Regions from separate parts of the Homo sapiens genome. Here region 2 is linked to region 1. Evidence: promoter capture Hi-C in human tissues and cell types (Jung and others, 2019). All regions are on one chromosome and are shown on one strand. Each heading gives the region's core, a stretch centred on a gene start or on the middle of the fragment in contact. The rest is flanking DNA. Distances are from core to core; before and after follow the strand shown.

Region 1 (4,039 bases), core at 1,048-3,547:
TAAGCTGAAAAATGTTCAACCTGAATTTAATCAAGCTTCTTGGACCTCATTGCCAGGTTACAGGAAATACAGGAGGCAGAGGAACAAATAAAAGACACCACGAGAAACAGACACATCCAGAACGTGGAATATTGCATAAGAAAGCTGCCCTGGATTCTTCAAAATATTATTATGATGAAAAAGAGAGGGGAGTGAAAATTGTTCAAGCTGTCTTGAGTCTGCTGTGAGTTTATTATACCATTCTCTGCTTTTGTGTATGTATGAAAATTTCGATATGAAAGGTATAAAACATGGATGAGGAGGCTTGTTTTTAAAAGATAATACTAGAGAGCCGTTAGGTACTAAGAACCAGAAATAGACTCACATAAATGGCCAATTGATTTTTGACAGGGGCAAAAGCAATTCAATGGAGGAGGGATCGCCTTTTCAGCAAATACTGTTGGAGTAATTGGATATCCATAGGCAGTAAACCAACAACTTCAGGACCTAGGACTGAGCTAAGAAGGCTCAGATGACTCAAAAGCATGCTCCTTAGAAGGAAAAAAAATGTTAAATTGGACTTCATCAAAATTAAGATAATTTACCCTGTAAGAGACCTTTTTACAAAGATGATATTACAGGTTGGGAAAAAATATTTGCAAATCATATCCAACAAGGGATTTGTATGTAAACTACATAAAGAACTTTCCAAATTTAACAGTAATAAGTAAATACAATTAGAAAATAAGCAAAAGACAGACATTTCACTGAAGTATAGATAGCAAATAAGCAAATGAAAAGATGTTCAACATCATTAGGCATGAGGGAAATGCAGAGTAAAATCGTGAGATATCACCTATCAGAATAGCTTAACTTTTTTTTTTTAATGGTGGTAACTGCTGGCAAGGATGAAGAGAAACAGGATCTCATACATTGCTGGGAATGTAAAATGGTACAGCCACTCTGGAATATAATTTGGCAGTTTCTTGTAAAACCACACATGTATATGTCATGCTTCAGGAATTGCACTTCTGAGCATTTATCCCAGAGAAATGAAAACTTGCGTTCACACAAAAACCTGTATACGAATGTTCATAGCAGCTTTATTTGTAATGGTCGAAACCTGTAGGCAACCCATATATCCTTCCTTAGGTGGTTAAAACAAATTGTGGTTTATGTATTACCATGGAATACTTGTTACTCTGCAATAAAATTGACTTATTGATATCCATAACAACTCAAATAAATTTCAAGGGAATTAATGCTGAGTGAAAATAATCACAAAAGGCCATATTCTGTATGAAAATATTCATATAACATTCTCAAAATGATAAAACTATAGAGATGAAAAATGGATTAATGGTTGCCAAAGGTTAGGGATGGTGGGAGGAAAAATGGGGAGAGGGTTGGATGGAACTATTAAAAGGTAGCACCAGAAAGGTCTTTGTGGTGATGGAACACTTGTGTATCTTGATTGCAGTGGTGGTTACACAAATCTATAGGTGCTATACCTATACACACATACTGTACCAATGTTGATTTCCTTTTTCATTTTATGTAAGATGTAACCATGAGGGGAAAGTGGGTGAAGGGTGCTATCTTTGCAACTTCCTGTGATTCTATCATTTCAAAATAAAAAGTAAAAACCAACAATGGCAACGAAAACCCAAAACTAAAGAGCTGTAACCAACTAAAGTGTGTGAAACTGATTTGAAAAAAAGTTATAAAATACATGTTTTAGGACAGTTGGGAAATTTGAATATGACTGGTTATTAGATGGTATTAGGGAATTTTTGTTGATTTTCTTACCTGTGACGGTGGTGGTAGTTTGAAGAATATTCTTAATCTTAAGGGATGCATGTTGAAGTATTTGGAATGAAGTGTTCTGATGTTTACAACTTTCAAAAAAATGATTTTAAATATGTATTGAGAGATCAGGCAAACATAGCAAAATGTTCATTGTTGAGTCCACATGGAAAATACGGGTATTCAATGTGCCATACTTTCAACTCTTCTGTACTCTGATATTTTCAAAATAAAACATTTGAGGGGAAATTATCAGGGCTTTCTACAGATTAATGCTGTGTAGCTTCAGGCTCTTGGGTGCGCGCCTCGCCTGAGTGTCTCATCCCTGCTTGGGATGCGCCCCTCCCTGAGGCTCACTTAGAGCTTCCAACAGCACAATCCTCCTAAGCGCTTCTGCCCCATCCCTGGTCTGGGGCGACATTGGACACCCATCGAGAGGAAAGCACCTCCGAGGTTCCTAGAGAGGCCGGCTTGGCGACTTGGGGAGCCGGAAGCCCATCCCGAGGCACTTCCTGTCCGGTCATTGTTCTCGTGCCGGTAGAAGCTGAAGTACCGGTCAGCCAGCCTCCTGCTGCAGAGCCAGTGAACTCAGGTCGGGCTTCTCAGCTGCGCACAGTGAGTGGGGTCGGAGGGGGTGGGCACGAACGTCGAGGGAGAAAAAGGGGCTCTCCCAGGGGCCATGGCCCTAGGAGCGGCCCCTGCGTCCTTTCCCCGGGGACACCAGCCTTGTCTGTCGGGGTGCGGGGGGCAGTGAGTTCCCCACCGCCTCGGAATCCCGGCTGCTGCCCACCTGGGGCCTGGTCCGGGAGAGGATGCACACGGACCGGCCAAGGGGCCAGATAGGTCCCAGGGACAGGGCCGCGAGGAGCCTATACGTGGAAAGAATGGATTGCCACGTTTGGAAATAGAGAAAGGACGTTGAAAGGGAGCCTTTGATAGAGGGCCCTGTGCCGTCTGGGACCGGAGGTCCGTCAGAATCTGATCAGAAGTCTGATGAGAGTACTCACTGTAGGCAGTCTTATACACAAGGTGGAACTAGTCTTAAGGACCTTCATACCAGATTGAATTCGGATAGTGATGGAAAGAATAGTCCTCCAGAATTAAGGTTTGTCACAGGAATGAAAGTATTGCATTACTTAATAAATTCAGTGTATACAGTAAGTGGCCAGTAAGTTGACATGGGGAAAAGAGTATGATCACTTCAATAGCAGCAACAGGGGATTGAATAAGATTTCGCACCCTTTTCCAATAAAACATTCAAAGGGGGTTAGAAAGAAAAATTTCAATCTCTTCATAAGCAATCAAACTAGTAAGGTTATTTTGCTCACAGGTTAAAAACAAAAACCCTGCTGGCTTAGCTGTGATAAAGGGTTACTGTCAATTAGTGGGGGTGTGAATTGGCATGGTGCTTTTGGAAAGCAATTTGACAGTACATATCAACCAGCAAATCCTTGAACCAGTAATTCTCTGATTATTCTAAAGGAATAATTCAGCAAAAAAAAAATATTTACAAAGAAAAACTTTTAAATATTAATAAAATGGAAATATAAACTTTTACTAAATAAATGGTTCATAAATAGAATATGATTAAGTAAATGATAATATAGCCACAATTTAGAATACTATGCCAGAATGAGGTAGTTCTATATGTGTTGTATTGAAAGATTGTTAAGACTATTGTGAAATACGGAAATTGAGTTAAAAAACAATGCAGGTTGCTGAACAGTATATAACTGTGATGATCTAAAGTATGTTTTTGAAAAATAAGCAATATGTGTGAAGGTGAACATATAAGTATGTAAATGCAGAGAAAATGGGTTAGGACTCCCATCTAAACTGATAAGTACTTTGTGTGTGTGTGTGTGTGTGTGTGTAGTGTGTGTAGGTTATATATTTAATTCTATATATTTCTGTATTACTTGATCCTTTTTCAATGAGAGTGAAGATTTATCAACACCATAGGTTATTGTGTAGCATTTAAAATAAGCATGAAGAATGGCAACATGAAAGTAATCTTTTTTTAAATCTTAAGTGTAATATTTTATCTCACAGGACATTTGGAAGCTATGGAAAATGTAAAAATCAAACAAAAAAAATGAAAAGAACCTTAAAACTACCTGTAATTACACCATCCAGAGTTAACTACCCACTGCTAACACGTTGGTATAAAGACTCCCAGTCTTTTTCTTGGGATCCTTTTGTTCACATTATTTTGTATCCTTGGCAATAAAAAATCTTTTTGTTGTAAAATCCT
Region 2 (4,039 bases), core at 661-3,160, 1.0 Mb after region 1:
TGTAGGTAGACATTCTTGGTACCTTAGTTTAGCAGAGTCAGAAAATACTGCGAACGTTCAAGGATGGGGACCTTCTAGAAGAGAGGGCAACAGTAACTTTGAGGGGAGGACAAGAGAGCAGCTTTGGAGACCTAAAGAGTTGTGGCCTTCTATGTAAGTCCTATTATCCCTTCCATGCACCCCCACCCACATTCCCCTACTCCATTAAACTTTGTTTCAGGTTATAAAAATAATGCATAATTATTGCAGGAAAAAATGGTAATTGAAAATCACCTATTTCTTACACTCAAAGATAATGACTTAAAATTTGGTGTACATCTTATGTGTATGAGTGTACACATAATTTTGTCATCATATATGTGAGTGTGTTCATAACTGTAACCCACATACTTATATACTTCCTTTAAAATATTTTAAGTATTTTTCCCTGTCAATAAATATTTTTTTGAAAACACAATCTTTTTATGGCTGCATAATATTCCAACATGTATATGGGTTATCATTTAATAGGAATTGGACATTTGATGCTCATTTTTAGCAAGCTATTATAAATCTGAGATGACGATTTCTGGAACTAGGATAAATTCCTGAAATAGAATTTTTGGGGAGAAAATATCTGAACTTTGTAAATTCTACTGACATTTAATACAAATTTCTCTCCTAAGAGCTTGTTTTAGCTTCTGCTATCCCTTGCAGAGTGTGAACAAGTATCTGTTTGTCTGTGTCATTACTAACACTGGGGTTATCATTCTTTTTAAGCTTTGCTAGTCTGATAGGTAAAGCATAGGGTTTTTTGTTGTTGTTTGTTTTTGGAGAGACAGAGTCTCACTCTATTGCCCAGGCTGGCGTGCACAGACGTGATCTCAGCTCACTGCAGTCTCAACCTCTAGGCACAAGTGATCCTCCTAGCTCAGCCTCCTAAGTAGCTGGGACTACAGGCGTGCCCCACTACACCTAGCTAACTTTTTTATTATTTGTAGAGATGGGATCTTGCTGTGTTGCCTAGGCTGGTCTTGAGCTCCTGGGTTCAAGTGATCCTCCCACCTTGGCCTCCCAAAGTGTTGGAATTACAGGTGTGAGCCACTGTGCCTGGCAGCAATATTTTTTAAATCATGAGGAAAGCTAAAGATTTTATTTTATAGTTATTGATCATTCATACTTATTTTGTGGTTTGTCTGCCTATTCTTTACCCATTTTTTATATAGGACTGTTACTTGAGTTATTTTCATATTAGAGTTACATCCTTTTCTGTCATACAGTATAGATGTTTGCTCTAGTTTGTTATTGCCTTTTCGTTTACGGTGTTTCACCTAAGTGTGTGTGTGTGTGTGTGTGTGTGCGCGTGTAAAACCTACTGGAAGGTACTATGGGAAATAATCCTTATTTACCTGTCACCCAGAATGCACAGACATTTTTACATTATAGTTTTGGTTTGATATTTTTTATAAAGGAAATTAAATATATAAAAATTGTGTGTGTATTTTAAAACCTACTGGAAAGTACTATAGGAAATAATCCTTATTTACCTATCACCCAGAATGCACAGACATTTTTACATTGTAGCTTTGATTCTGTATTTTTATAAAGGAAATAAAATATTATATAAAAATTGGAATCATCTTGATTCCTTTTCCCATCCTCTCCCTTCCTTCCCTAGGGCAGCTGCCATTATGAATTGAAATTTTCCTACTGTTACCATATATACTATTGTCAATAAAAAACATACAGTACTAGTTTACAGTACTAGTTTGTGGCCGGGCATGGTGGCTCACACCTGTAATCCCAGCACTTTGGGAGGCCGAGGTGGGTGGATCACCTGAGGTCAGGAGTTCGAGACCAGCCTGGCCACCATCTCTACTAAAAATACAAAAATTAGCCGGGTATGGTGGTGAGTGCCTGTAATCCCAGTTGCTTGGGAGGCTGAGGCAGGAGAATCACTTGAACCTGGGAGGCAGAGGCTGCAGTGAACCAAGATCGTGCCACTGCACTCCAGCCTGGGCGACACAGCGAGACTCCGTCTCAAAAAAAAAAAACAAAACAGTACTAGTTTGTGTATGTGTGTGTGCGCACTCTCAAACTTACACATATACGATCATTGGTATATCTTCAGGCATTTTGCCTTATTTGCACTGGTGTTCAGTTCAATTAATAATGATATGCATAGATCTAGCCCTTTCATTTTGACTGCTGTCTGGTATTACATCCAGTAAATACAGCTCCAGTTTCTTCGTCTATTTATCAATTCTCATATCTAGTGAACACTGAAGACGCTTCTAGTTTTTCCATAACAACGTTGCCGTGAACATCCATACATGTCTGTCCTCATGCATGTTTGGGTAATCTTCTCAAGGGGCAACCTTAGAAGTGTGTTGTGGATTATGTGTATTTTCAGATCTATTGGCCCTTGACAAATTGTTCCCAAGTAGTCATCCCAGTTGATGATACTCCCACCAGTGTGAAAGGGCTCCTCTTGTCCCACACCTTCCAAGACATGCTATTAGATTTAGTAATTTTTGCCAATCTATGAAAGTGAGATAGAATCTCATTGTGGTTTTAGTTTGCATTATCCTGATTGTTGATAGGATAGAACATCTTTTTATTATAGATATTGGGGTTATGATTAATAATCCTGGTTATTCCTAAGGTATAACAGGTTTTCTATTCTATGCACTTTCTCTTCCTGCCCTTTGCTCATTTCCCCATTGGATTATTTATCTTTTTCTTATTAATTGGTGTTCTTTGTGTCTTAGGTACTAATACTATTTTAATTTATTTTATTTATTTATTTTTGAGACAGAGTCTTGCTCTGTTGCCCAGTCTTGACTCACTGCAATCTCCACCTCCTGGGTTCAAGTGATTCTTCTGCCTCAGACTCCCAAGTAGTGCGTGGCACCATGCCTGGCTAATTTTTTTTTTTTTTTTTTTTGAGACAGAGTCTCCCTCTGTCACCCAGGCTGGAGTGCAGTGGCATGATCTCGGCTCACTGCAACCTCCGCCTCCTAGGTGCAGGCGATTCTCCTGCCTCAGTCTCCCAAGTAGCTGGGGTTACAGGTGCATGCCACCATGCCCAGCTCTTTTTTGTATTTTTAGTAGAGATGGGGTTTCACCATATTGGCCAGGCTGATCTCGAACTCCTGACCTCAGGTGATCCACCTGCCTCAGCCTCCCAAAGTGCTGGCACTACAGGCTTGAGCCACTGTGCCCGGCCAATTTTTGTACCTTTTGTAGAGACAAAGTTTCACCATGTTGGCCAGGCTGGTCCCAAACTCCTGACCTCAAGTGATCCTCCCGTGTCAGCCTCCCAAAATGCTGGGACTACAGACGTGAACAACTGTGCCCGGCCAGATACTAATAGCATTTTATATGTGCTTTGGCCATCTTCTGATCCATGGCTTACTCTTCCTTTTTTCTTTAACTCAACATGTACTGCACTCTGTTAGAGTATTGCCAAAGCTTCCCCTCCAAGTATGAAGCTGACTTAGCTATATCTTCAAGGAATGTAGCATATACTCAGAGTATTAAAAAGTCCTACAGGAACCTACAGGAGGGCTGGGGGAAACATTCAGACAACACTAGATCTGGTAGCAACGACCACCACAGCAAAGAAGATGGATTTGTAGTTAAAGTTACTTCCTTTTTTATGCCTTTTCCGCTGCGTTGATGCTTTCAGGGTCCTCTCTGAGGTCTGAGGAATGTTCTTTGACAGTCTTGTCGCTATCTGCCTTGCGCTGCTTTGCCTCCTGTGGGCGTCACCAGGCGAGGGCAGCCAGTGTTCGTCTGGCGGGTTTCTCTGTATCTCGGGCACTGTTTGTGACAATGATGATTTTACTTTCATTTTGTGGGCTGGCCCCAAAGGGCTTGGTTTAACTTTTTGCAGAGAGTTCATTCAGTTTCTGAAACCCCCACATTGCCTGTTGAGTATGTGTTGAGCCTAGCACTGGAAATGCCCTCAGATCTGTGAATACTGCCAAGTAGGGGATCCCGGGACACCCTCTGCTGACCTTGAGCTCACAGCCCCATTGTGTTTTCCATAAGAGAT

Evidence for each region. Contacts are between HindIII fragments. The study calls those that stand out against the background at their distance.
Region 2: a fragment that was not itself captured here is called in contact with the fragment with the promoter of ZNF35 in region 1 in 1 of the 25 tissues and cell types used here (heart right ventricle).

What each region holds. Positions count from the first base shown.
Region 1 is chr3:44,646,435-44,650,473 of GRCh38, forward strand. ZNF35 (zinc finger protein 35) reads left to right here and starts at 2,298. Exons shown (of 4, transcript NM_003420.4): 1 at 2,298-2,400. It overlaps ZNF660-ZNF197 (ZNF660-ZNF197 readthrough), which reads left to right. Exons shown (of 8, transcript NR_147692.2): 8 at 1-2,037. It overlaps ZNF197 (zinc finger protein 197), which reads left to right. Exons shown (of 6, transcript NM_006991.5): 6 at 1-2,037. All of the region lies in intron 2 of ZKSCAN7-AS1 (ZKSCAN7 ZNF cluster antisense RNA 1), which reads right to left. RefSeq lists enhancers at 1,983-2,542, 2,421-2,590, 2,671-2,780. The HindIII fragment of the contact is 5,730 bases long and covers 1-4,039 here.
Region 2 is chr3:45,660,963-45,665,001 of GRCh38, forward strand. All of the region lies in intron 2 of LIMD1 (LIM domain containing 1), which reads left to right. Among named protein-coding and RNA genes, the nearest start is that of LIMD1-AS1, 26 kb to the right of the region's middle. The HindIII fragment of the contact is 5,401 bases long and covers 1-4,039 here.